Regions from separate parts of the Homo sapiens genome. Here regions 2 and 3 are each linked to region 1. The links are contacts of gene promoters, found by promoter capture Hi-C in human tissues and cell types (Jung and others, 2019). All regions are on one chromosome and are shown on one strand. The core of a region is centred on a gene start or on the middle of the fragment in contact, and the rest is flanking DNA. Distances in the headings are between cores, read along the strand shown. Region 1 holds the start of ATP1A2 (ATPase Na+/K+ transporting subunit alpha 2). Region 2 overlaps DCAF8 (DDB1 and CUL4 associated factor 8). Region 3 overlaps PEX19 (peroxisomal biogenesis factor 19).

Region 1 (3,018 bases), core at 360-2,859:
ACTGCAGGCCCGGAGGGGGCCAGTTATTTAGGGAATTCAGATGTTAGCCTTGTGCCCTGAGAGTGGATTTGCTAGAGGAGAGGCTGATAATCCCTCTGCAGGGAGTTCCCTCTGGGGCCAGAGATGGACCCAGCCCAGCCAGCAGGCACCTTAGGCCTCTGGCCAAAGCCCCCCTTCCCTCCCTCCCTTCCTCTCTGCTTTCTTTGCACTCAGGACACTTAGACCTGCCCCACTCCGCTGGCTTCCCCTCACTCCATCTCTGTGCCCAGAGAAACAGGGGTACTCCAGGGGAATCCTGTCCTCTGACTGTTCCCAGTAGAAGGCGGGAGCAGAATTTTTTCTTTTCTCTCTGCCCCTTCTGGGTTCCCCTTCCTCTCTGTGCCCCTCATCCTTTGGATTACTCATCAAATGAGCAGCAACAACACCCCTAGACCAGCTGGTCCTGTCCTGGGTCATCTCGTTGTCCCCAGTTTCTAGCTGGTATAAGGTTAAAGATACCCTTTCCAGCCCCAGGCAAAGCCTTAGGCATTTCTGGGATTGCTCCTGACTCTGATGGGCATCCTCACTCCTCAGACATTTCCAATCTCCCCCACTTCACTGCAGAGAGGCCTGTTCTCCAGCCTCAGTCCTGCATGCTGCAGCTTTGCTTCCCCTTCCCCACTGGAAGAAGGAAACAGTCGCTCTCCTTTCCCGTTCACATGTCTGATATTTGCTATGATATTGACCTTCACACACATCTTAGAGGTTCTGTATTTTCCTCTCTTTTGACTTCTCCCTATCACTACTCTACTCAGGCATAGATTCAGTCTAGAGCTCTTCAACAGCAATGAAACGGTAAACGAGGGGTAAACAAAACCCAGAGATGTCATCAGGTGCCTGCTAGGAGTCCCACCCGTTCCCCTCTAGCCCTGGCCTGCCCCTCCCTACCAGAGTCTTGATTCTCCTTCAAAACTTTGGAGAGGTTACATCTGGCAGGGTTTGGGGACACCCTCTTGCCTCCATCTCCAAACTTCCCGCTGCCTCCCGAGCCACCTTTGACTCCTCCTGGGCCCCCCTTCCAGGTGCCTCAAGTGCAGAGGTCAGCCTTCGGTTCAAATTCTATTTCTGGGCTTCAGTGTCCCTGCAACCTCTATAATAGAAGGAACAGAGTGGTCTATGTTTCTTTCTTTCTCTGGGAGATTGGATGTAGACTCGGGAGACCTGAGTTCTGGCTCTGTCTTATCAATTCAAATTGTTTAATCTCTCTGAGCCTCAGTTTACCCACTTGGAAAAGAAGAGTTAGGCCACATGGTCTCTGTCATCCTGGGATTCTGAGTCAACTGCTCCCCTTCAGCCAGATCCAAGGGGGCATATCCCCCCAACCTGGGACCCAGGCCCCCTTCCCTTGCAGCCTCTCTCAGTTGTGAGTGCCACAGGCCAGAGGGGGTTGAGAGGAGCCAAGGGGGGGCATGCCGTGGGACAAACGGGCTGTCTAGGGCCAGTGGCTAAAGGGGCGGGAGGGGAGGAGTCCTCAGGGATCCTGTTTCAACAAACGTTTCTTTCGGAGGAGGGGAAGGCGGGGGAGAGGGGGAGAAGGACCTATTTAAAGCTACCCTGTTGCTTTGGCTTTCTCTGTCTGCCAGGGTCTCCGACTGTCCCAGACGGGCTGGTGTGGGCTTGGGATCCTCCTGGTGACCTCTCCCGCTAAGGTCCCTCAGCCACTCTGCCCCAAGATGGGCCGTGGGGTGAGTATCCCTAAAGAGCAGGGGTCGCAGTCTAGAGGGTGAGGGAGGCTGCTGAGGAAGGATGAAGTGGGAATGGGATGTGGAAGGAGCGGGAGAGAGGAGCTGAGTGGGATACTTGGAACTTGAAACTAACAGTCTCCAAACTACCAATGTGTGTACAGATCCCACGGCGGTCACATACCCTAGTGCTCTCCTCTCCTCTGCACGCCCCAGCCCCCTGCCCACAGTTAGACCCACAGCCCACCACACATGCCCCCTCCATCTCTCCCTCCACCCCACTCCCACATCTCTAGTCCTTCCCTGCAGCAGTCCCTCCTCTCACTGCATCTCCCGGCCTCCCAGCTGAAAGGATGTTTGGCACTGTGAGTCCTCCTGTCTTTGCCACCTCCTGAAAATATCCATTCCTCTGGGAGTCCTAGCCTGAGAGGCTGGGGGTCCATTTTGAGGTTAGAGAGGGGCAGTAGAGCATCCGGCTCCCAGAGTCACCAAGTAGTTCCGGACACCAGCTCCAGGGGCCCTGAGTGCCAAGGACAGCTGGGCGGGGTGTGGGGAGGAAGAATGATGACCCAGCCCCCACCCCAGCACCCCTCCGGATGTCCCGAGCAGCATTGTCCGTGGGTTCCAAGCCATGGGCTTTGAGGACTTTCCCAGAGGCTGGTGACAGGTGACCCCCCCCCCAGTCCACCCGTCCATGGCATTCTGCAGCAATGGCTACACCAAGAGGAAGATTAACAACAATGGGGCGGGCAGGGAGAGGGCTTTGAATTCTTGGAAATGAAATTCCCATATGGAGAAGAGTGGCCCAATCCTTTTACATGCTGTGCCTGGCTGCTTTCCTTTTGTGGAATACTGGCAAAAGAGGACACAGAGGGAAAGGGCATGCTGCGGAACAGGAGGGTATGAGGAAGACTGTGCCTAGGGGGAGCCGTGGGTGTTTCTGGGCCCAGGAGGAGTCAGGCAAGGACATGTTATTGCACCTAGTTGAGCAGCTGGGAAATCCTGAGCCTGGACACCAGGGTTCCTGAGCTAGGGTTGGAGCCATAAATAGAATTGGAGTGCATGCATGTATCTGTGTGTCTGTGTCTGTGTGTGTGTGAGTGTGTGTCCTTGACCACGTGTTCTCCATAGGCGGGGAGTCCTGCAGTTACTCATGGATGAGTACCTGTGTTTGTGTCTCAGCAGGCAAATTTGTAAATGTACAAGCCTTCAAGCCTGCACAAGCATAAATGTCACTGTGTGGGGGTGCTTGAGAGTCTGTGAGCCTGCCCTTAGGAGCTGTGAGGTATGGGCTTCA
Region 2 (3,502 bases), core at 275-2,774, 140 kb after region 1:
AACAGTAACTTCAGAGGATAAACAGCAAATATCTAATCTAAAATGTTTGCATTGACCCAATCCACTAGACATACTATTAATACATTTCATTAATAAGATGACATCTTTGTCATATTAATTACTCCCCAATGCCCTATTGGCAACCTCAAGGCAGCCTCCGTTCATTAATTTATCTGTATCATAACACATTCCTGGGGTTAGATGGTACTTGAGAAATCTGGCTTCTGGCCCAGGAACTATGTCCTACAGAGGTAGAGATAAAAAAAAACTGCTGCAAAGAAGTGACTAATTCATAAAATTCATCACTCGCTAATTTTTGAAAAGCTTTCAAAGACTTTCTACTCACTCCAAGAGCAGAATGACTAAATCAATAAAGAGCAAGTAGCCTCCTTTTCTGACTGATTTTAACAGCAATGATGTTTCTTGGCTACATTTGTAAAAATAAAAGATGAAGTTTTTAATATTACTATAAAGCTAATCTAAAACTCACTGGCTTTTGGCTCTAAAATGAAAATATACAAAGTCACTACCCCATGCCTATTGCTGATTCAATTAATTCAGTTGCCTGTGTTCCAAATAGGTGAGGGTAAACAGCAGATTATCTTAGCTCACTGATAATCTGCTTTAAAAAAAAAAAAAGCTAATTCAATCTCAGAGACTTAAAAACTAACTCTAACACCAATGTTATGCAATAAAAAGTCTGGTTTGGATACCGTTATTTCTCTTTTATAATCTGGATATTTCCTAGACATGTTTAGAATAAACTTTTATACAGTAGAAATAATGGAGTAATGAATCTATCTACTGAAAGCATTTTAATAGTCACTTTATGATTTTAAAAGCCTATTACTCCCCTGATAGAATACAAGACTTAGAGCACGAAACTCAAGATCCCAGTCTTTCACAACAGGGTGCGCTTCTATACAATGTCTCCTACTAGAATCTGTTTGCTTTTAAAATGCCAGTATTGTTTTAAACTGGCAACAAAGAGGCTGCTTTCTTTCAGCTCTCTGTAGACAAGCTTCTGTCTTAGGTTGGTCCTACTCCACACTAAGGACCATGGCACTGGAACTGATTCTTTTTTTTGAGACTAGGTCTCGCTCTGTTGCCCATACTAAACTGCAGAGGCGCAATCTCAGCGCACTGCAGTGATCACTGCGCAATCTCAGCTCTACCTCCTGGACTCAAACAATCCTCCCACCTCAGCCTCCCAAGGAGATGGGACTGCAAGTACTTGCCCCATGCTTGGCTTTTTTTTTAAACTTTTTGTAGAGACAAGGTCTCAATATTGCCTAGGCTGGACTTGAACAACTAGGATCAAGTGATCCTCCCACCTTGGCCTCCCAAAAGTGCTGGGATTACAGCCATGAGCCAGCCGCACTCAGCCTGGCAGATTCTTATACATTTAATTGACTGCATTTAGCAGGGTGCAGTGGCTCACGCCTGTAATCCCAGCACTCTGGGAGGCTGAGGCAGGAGGATTGCTTGAGCCCAGGGGTTTGAAACCAGCCTGGGCAATATGGTGAAACCTCATCTTTACAAAAAATACAAAAATTAGCCAGGTACGGTGGCGTGCACCTGTAGTCCCAGCTACTCGAGAGGCTGAGATGGGAGAATCACCTAAGCCCAAGAGGTCGAGGTTGCAGTGAGCCATGATAGTGCCACTGCACTCTAGGTGACAGAGTGAGATCCTATTTCAAAAATAAATAAATAGACTGCACTTTAAGAGGTTGGTGGTGGGAACTAAAAGGTCACAAGCATTCTTAGCCTCCCACTCTAATCATCCTAGGAAATACTACCTAATAAGATGTCACAATTCTTAAGTAAACACCTAAAACCCTGGAAATATAAAAATATCTTCAAGCTGGGTGCTGCGGCTATGCCTGTAATCCCAGCACTTTGGGAGGCCAAGATGGGAGCATCACTTGAGCCGGGCAAGTAAGACCTCATCTCTTTAAAAAAACAAACAAACAAAAAAAAAACAACCAAAAATTAGCTAGGTATGGTGATATGCCCCTGCGGTCCCAGCTACTCAGCTGAGGTGGGAAGATCACTTGAGCCCAGGAGTTTGAGACCAGCCTAGGCAACAAAGTGAGACCCTATCTCTACAAAAATAAAAAAAACTTTAGAAAGATAAAAAGTTTACAGTGTGGTCCACAGACTAGAAATACTGATTTACTACATATAGATGTCACCTGGACATTCTTACCCAGCACATAAGGAAATAAACAGTCCAAGTTATCCCTCTTTCAAAGTATTTCCTTTTCTCCTCCCATCCTTTCCTTCACCCGACATGGATCTTCAGAGTTCATAAAAACACAAATGATACAAATGCAATCTCAACCCACCTCACCACCACCCTGGAGAATCCTTACCTTACAATGGAGAATTTAGACCCTGGATGATGGTAATGAAAAGTTCATCAAACCTAAAATGGTCACTGGTCTGAATGACACAGCTGCTTTCATTGTGATATTATCAGTACTTAATTTTCATGTGCCCTTGCCAAAAAGATACGAAAGAAAAGCCAACAAAAGGTTTAAAACTCTTCATCTGTGCTGTCATATTATTAAGACGGTCCAGCTGTGGAGCTGAAAAAAGAACTCTTTGGCCGGGCATGGTGGTTCACACCTGTAATCCTAGCACTTTGGGAGGCTGAGGCGGGCAGATCACAAGGTCAGGAGATTGAGACCACCCTGGCCAACATGGTGAAACCCCTCCTCTACTAAAAATACAAAAATTAGCTGGGCATGGTGGCGCATGCCTGTAATCCCAGCTACTCGGGAGGTTGAGGCAGGAGAATCGCTTGAACCAGGGAGTCGGAGGTTGCAGTGGGCTGAGATCGCGCCACAGCACCCCAGCCTGGTGACAGAGCAAGACTCGTCAAAAAACAAACAAACAAACAAAAAAAACCTCTTCATTCCTAACTCCCCAGCCCTGATTCACTTTTAAAAAAAGAGACCTTTTCCTCATACAGTTCTTTGATAATTTGTTGATGAGGATCACTGTATAGCCCAACAAGAAGGAAAAAATGTATTCCCTTCATGGCAAAAAAGGAAAGTATAAAGAATAGTTGCAGTAGAAGTAAACAACATTGCAGCAGAGAGGGAAAGAATTACAACACGGCCAACTCTGATCAGGTGTGCTAACAGAGAGTCCAAGATGAAGGAACCAATGAACAAAAAAATTTACTGATGTTTAAGAATACATTTTGAAATATACATACACCAATATCTAATATTCTCTGTCCTCTGGTTATGAACCCCCACCAAGGGTTTCATGTTCAGAAGACAACTCTAGGTGGGCACTTACAAAGGACACGTCTAAGCTGACCAATTAAAAATCAGTTGGGAAAATTAACCAGAAAAATGTGTTCTAAGGCAAAATGTAAAAGAAGCATAAATTAACGTATAACTTATTCAAAGCTGTATCAATGATGTGCAAAAAAAAAAAACCAAAAAACAACATTTTTTGAGTGTGTACCACGTGTTCTTAGATTACT
Region 3 (3,291 bases), core at 775-3,274, 160 kb after region 1:
GGTTGAACTAATCTCTGCCATTTTCCCCAGAATACAGTATATTTACTATCTTGGCAGAGGTGGGGATGCAGTTTCAGGAGCATGGCCTTTCTGCCAAAACTGCTAAACATATTCATTCTGATTATACATTTGGAAATGGGGGAAATGATCATAATGTGGGTTTTTGGACCCACTGTGAGAGCAGGGTTGGGGGTGTTGAGAGGGGAAGACACTGTGGTGGTACTTCAGGTTCCTGGGTATCAATGCCAACTCAGACCCTGTAACCCTGTTTCCCAAGTCAAAAACTTCTGCATATTCTTTTCCCAGTGTTTGGTTGTGATATTGTAAAATATGTATTTGGTCTTTAACCCCTTTTCCTGGAATATAACTTCTAAAATCCTTAAAATCTTCAAAGTGATGTCTTATTGTATTCCAATGAGTTGACTGATGGTTGGCATCCCCTAGGTAGCTTCAGGTTCAGGGTCAGTCAACAAAAAGACCAAAGCAGTATTAGAGGGTTGGAACTTTCAACCCCACCCCCAAACCTCTAGGGAGGACAGAGGGGCTGAATTTTAAATTAATCACCAATGGCCAATGGTTCAGCTAATCATGCCTATATATAAAGCCTCCATAAAAACCCAAAAAGACAAGATCTAGACAGCTTCCAAGATGTCAAACACATGAGGGTTTATAGAATGAGGGGTCCCCAACACCTGGGCCACGAACCAGTACCAGTCCATGGCTTGTTAGGAACTGGGCCTCACAGCAGGAGGTGAGTGGCAGGTGGGCCAGCAATACCGCCTAAGCTCCACCTCCTGTCAGATCAGCAGTGGCACTAGATTCTCAGAGGAGTGCAAACCCTATTGTGAACTGCACATGCGAGGGATCTAGGTTGTGTGCCCCTTATGAGAATCTAGCTAATGCCTGATGATCCGAGGTAGAACAGTTTCATCCCAAAACCATCCCCCCACCCCCCTCTGTGGAAAACTTGTCTTCTATGAAACTGGTCCCTGGTGCCAAGAATGTTGGGGACCGCTGTCCTAAATGGTGGCATGCCCAGAGAAGGAATGGAAGCTCTGCAACCTTGCCTTATACATCTTTTCATCTTTTTTTTTTTGAGAGATGGAGTCTTGCTCTGTCTGTTGCCCAGGCTGGAGTACAGTGGCACAGTCTCAGCTCACTGCAACCTCCGCCTCCCCAGTTCAAGCAATTCTCCTTCCTCAGCTTCCCAAGTAGCTGGGACTACAGGCATGCACCACCACACCCAGCTAAATTTTGTATTTTTTTAATAGAGACGGGGTTTCACTATGTTCGCCAGGCTGGTCTCGAACTCCTGACCTTAGGTGATCCACCCACCTCGGCCTCCCAAAGTGTTGGGATTACAAGCGTGAGCCACTGGGTCCAGCCATGTTTTCATCTATATTCATTGTAATATCCTTTAAATAAACTGAAATATGTAAGTAAGTGTTTCCCCAAGTTTTGTGGGCCACTCTAACAAATTAACCAAACCCAAGGAGCTGGCTGTAGACACCCTGATTTATAGCACAGGCAAAATAACCCAGGAATTGCAATTGACATCAGAAGTTGGGGGGGAGAGTCTCAGTGATTGATTGGTCAACCTGTGGGATCTGACACTGTCTCCAGGTAGACAGTGTCAGAATTAAAGTAAATTAGAGGATATCCAGCTGTTATCCACTGCAGAATTGCTTGCTTGTTGAGGGGAGGGAATTCCACACGTGATTACAGAAGAGTTCTGTGTCACTCATTGTGGTGTGAGAACAGAGGATGAACAGTGCTTTTCCACTCAATGATTAACTGATAAATGTCTCTTTCCATTGATAGTTTATGAGTCTAAGAACTATCTCAGGCTTAAAAACTGGACAAGAAATGGGGACTTTTCTTTGAAGTTTCTGACTTCAGCCTTCTGTTCAACCATTCTTGATCTCCCTTATATATAAGACAATACTCTTCTTGGTTGCCCATCTATCCTGCTCCTAGGACCACTCACATTCCGTTAGCCATCTCCACTTTGACCTTGCTACCCTTAAGGAAATTTACTCACCTTGCTTCTGAGAGTTAAGTGTTGCCACCTGGCCTCTGCTATGTCAGGATCCTATCATTCCCCCACTGCTACTAGGAAAACAGTTTCTTTTACATCTTGTATCAGCTTCGATCTAGAGAGACAGCCACTTCTAAATTTCTCAAAGATGCTGGTAACCCTTCATCAGTGCCTTTCCCATTGTCTTTATTAAAAAATAATTCCCAGGTCTTTCTGGGGTAGTCAGCTGGTGGGTTTACCAGTGTTATATAACATTCATTCTTGCATACCCATTTCCTCTAAGTCTTTTGGTCCTTTTTTGTATGGTCTGCCGTCTCCACGTCATTCAATATGGGCCAATGTTTTCTCCTAGCTCCCCAAAGCCATCTTAACATCATATTATAACTGCCTCATGGGGCTTTGACAAGACCTTCCAGAGTCACAGGAAAATGTCCCAATTATCAAAAAGTCTGTATTAATTCAATTCTTAATTCATGAAGCCACCCATACAATCACAAATTTATCTAACACATTTAATTTTGGAACAAAGGAGCAACTCCTTTAAAGTTTGAGAGTCGCATAAATATTTCATATACAGCTTAAACCTAAGCTTTGTAACGATTATTTTTGAGCAGCAGAAAAGGAAGGCTAGAGAAATGCTAGAGATGTCCTTACTAGTGACACATTCTTGCTGAAGAACAAGTTCTCTGGAAGTGAAACTCAAATAGGAGAGAACAAGAGATACAGGTAGGTATCAGTTCTGCTAGGGTCTTCAGAGAGACCGAGGGCCCCAAAACAGTGCTACTCAAAGATGATCTGCAGACTTGTGCTGGTCAGTGAACACCTTTTTTTTTTTTTCACCAGTCTGTGACATGGTGAATTAGAAATTGAGAGTGTTTAAAAACTTTTTAGCATTTCAATGTTGCTGTGATATCCAAGTACATGATCAATGGACTTAACCTACAGAACAGTCTGGCCAGTTTGGGTGCTGTCAAACTTGCCGGGTCGGCAGCACACAGTGTGAACTCCATACCTGTCATGGGCAATAGGAATGCATATTGATAAGTGAAGGACTGGAAAACAAAAAACCTGGTCCTTTACCATACATAGTTTGAGAAAGACTGCCCTAGAGTACCATAACTCCACCACAAGTCCTGGAATAATTCCAAAAGTTTTTGGAACAAAGTGTGACCTGAGGTCAACCTGCTCACATTCAATCAAAATCAAAATAAAAATGAGTGCCTTGGGAACAAAGATAAAGTGGACTAGGGCAT

The links. Contacts are between HindIII fragments. The study calls those that stand out against the background at their distance.
Region 2: a fragment that was not itself captured here is called in contact with the fragment with the promoter of ATP1A2 in region 1 in 4 of the 25 tissues and cell types used here (H1 embryonic stem cells, IMR-90 fibroblasts, aorta and 1 more).
Region 3: a fragment that was not itself captured here is called in contact with the fragment with the promoter of ATP1A2 in region 1 in 2 of the 25 tissues and cell types used here (mesendoderm cells and neural progenitor cells).

The regions. Positions count from the first base shown.
Region 1 is chr1:160,114,150-160,117,167 of GRCh38, forward strand. ATP1A2 (ATPase Na+/K+ transporting subunit alpha 2) reads left to right here and starts at 1,610. Exons shown (of 23, transcript NM_000702.4): 1 at 1,610-1,724. The coding sequence starts at 1,713. RefSeq lists enhancers at 1-348, 1,101-1,884. The HindIII fragment of the contact is 19,722 bases long and covers 1-3,018 here.
Region 2 is chr1:160,256,644-160,260,145 of GRCh38, forward strand. The region is part of intron 2 of DCAF8 (DDB1 and CUL4 associated factor 8); the gene reads right to left. Among named protein-coding and RNA genes, the nearest start is that of DCAF8-DT, 3.4 kb to the right of the region's middle. The HindIII fragment of the contact is 6,807 bases long and covers 1-3,502 here.
Region 3 is chr1:160,274,338-160,277,628 of GRCh38, forward strand. PEX19 (peroxisomal biogenesis factor 19) reads right to left here. Exons shown (of 8, transcript NM_002857.4): 8 at 2,470-3,291. Among named protein-coding and RNA genes, the nearest start is that of PEX19, 9.2 kb to the right of the region's middle. The HindIII fragment of the contact is 8,705 bases long and covers 1-3,291 here.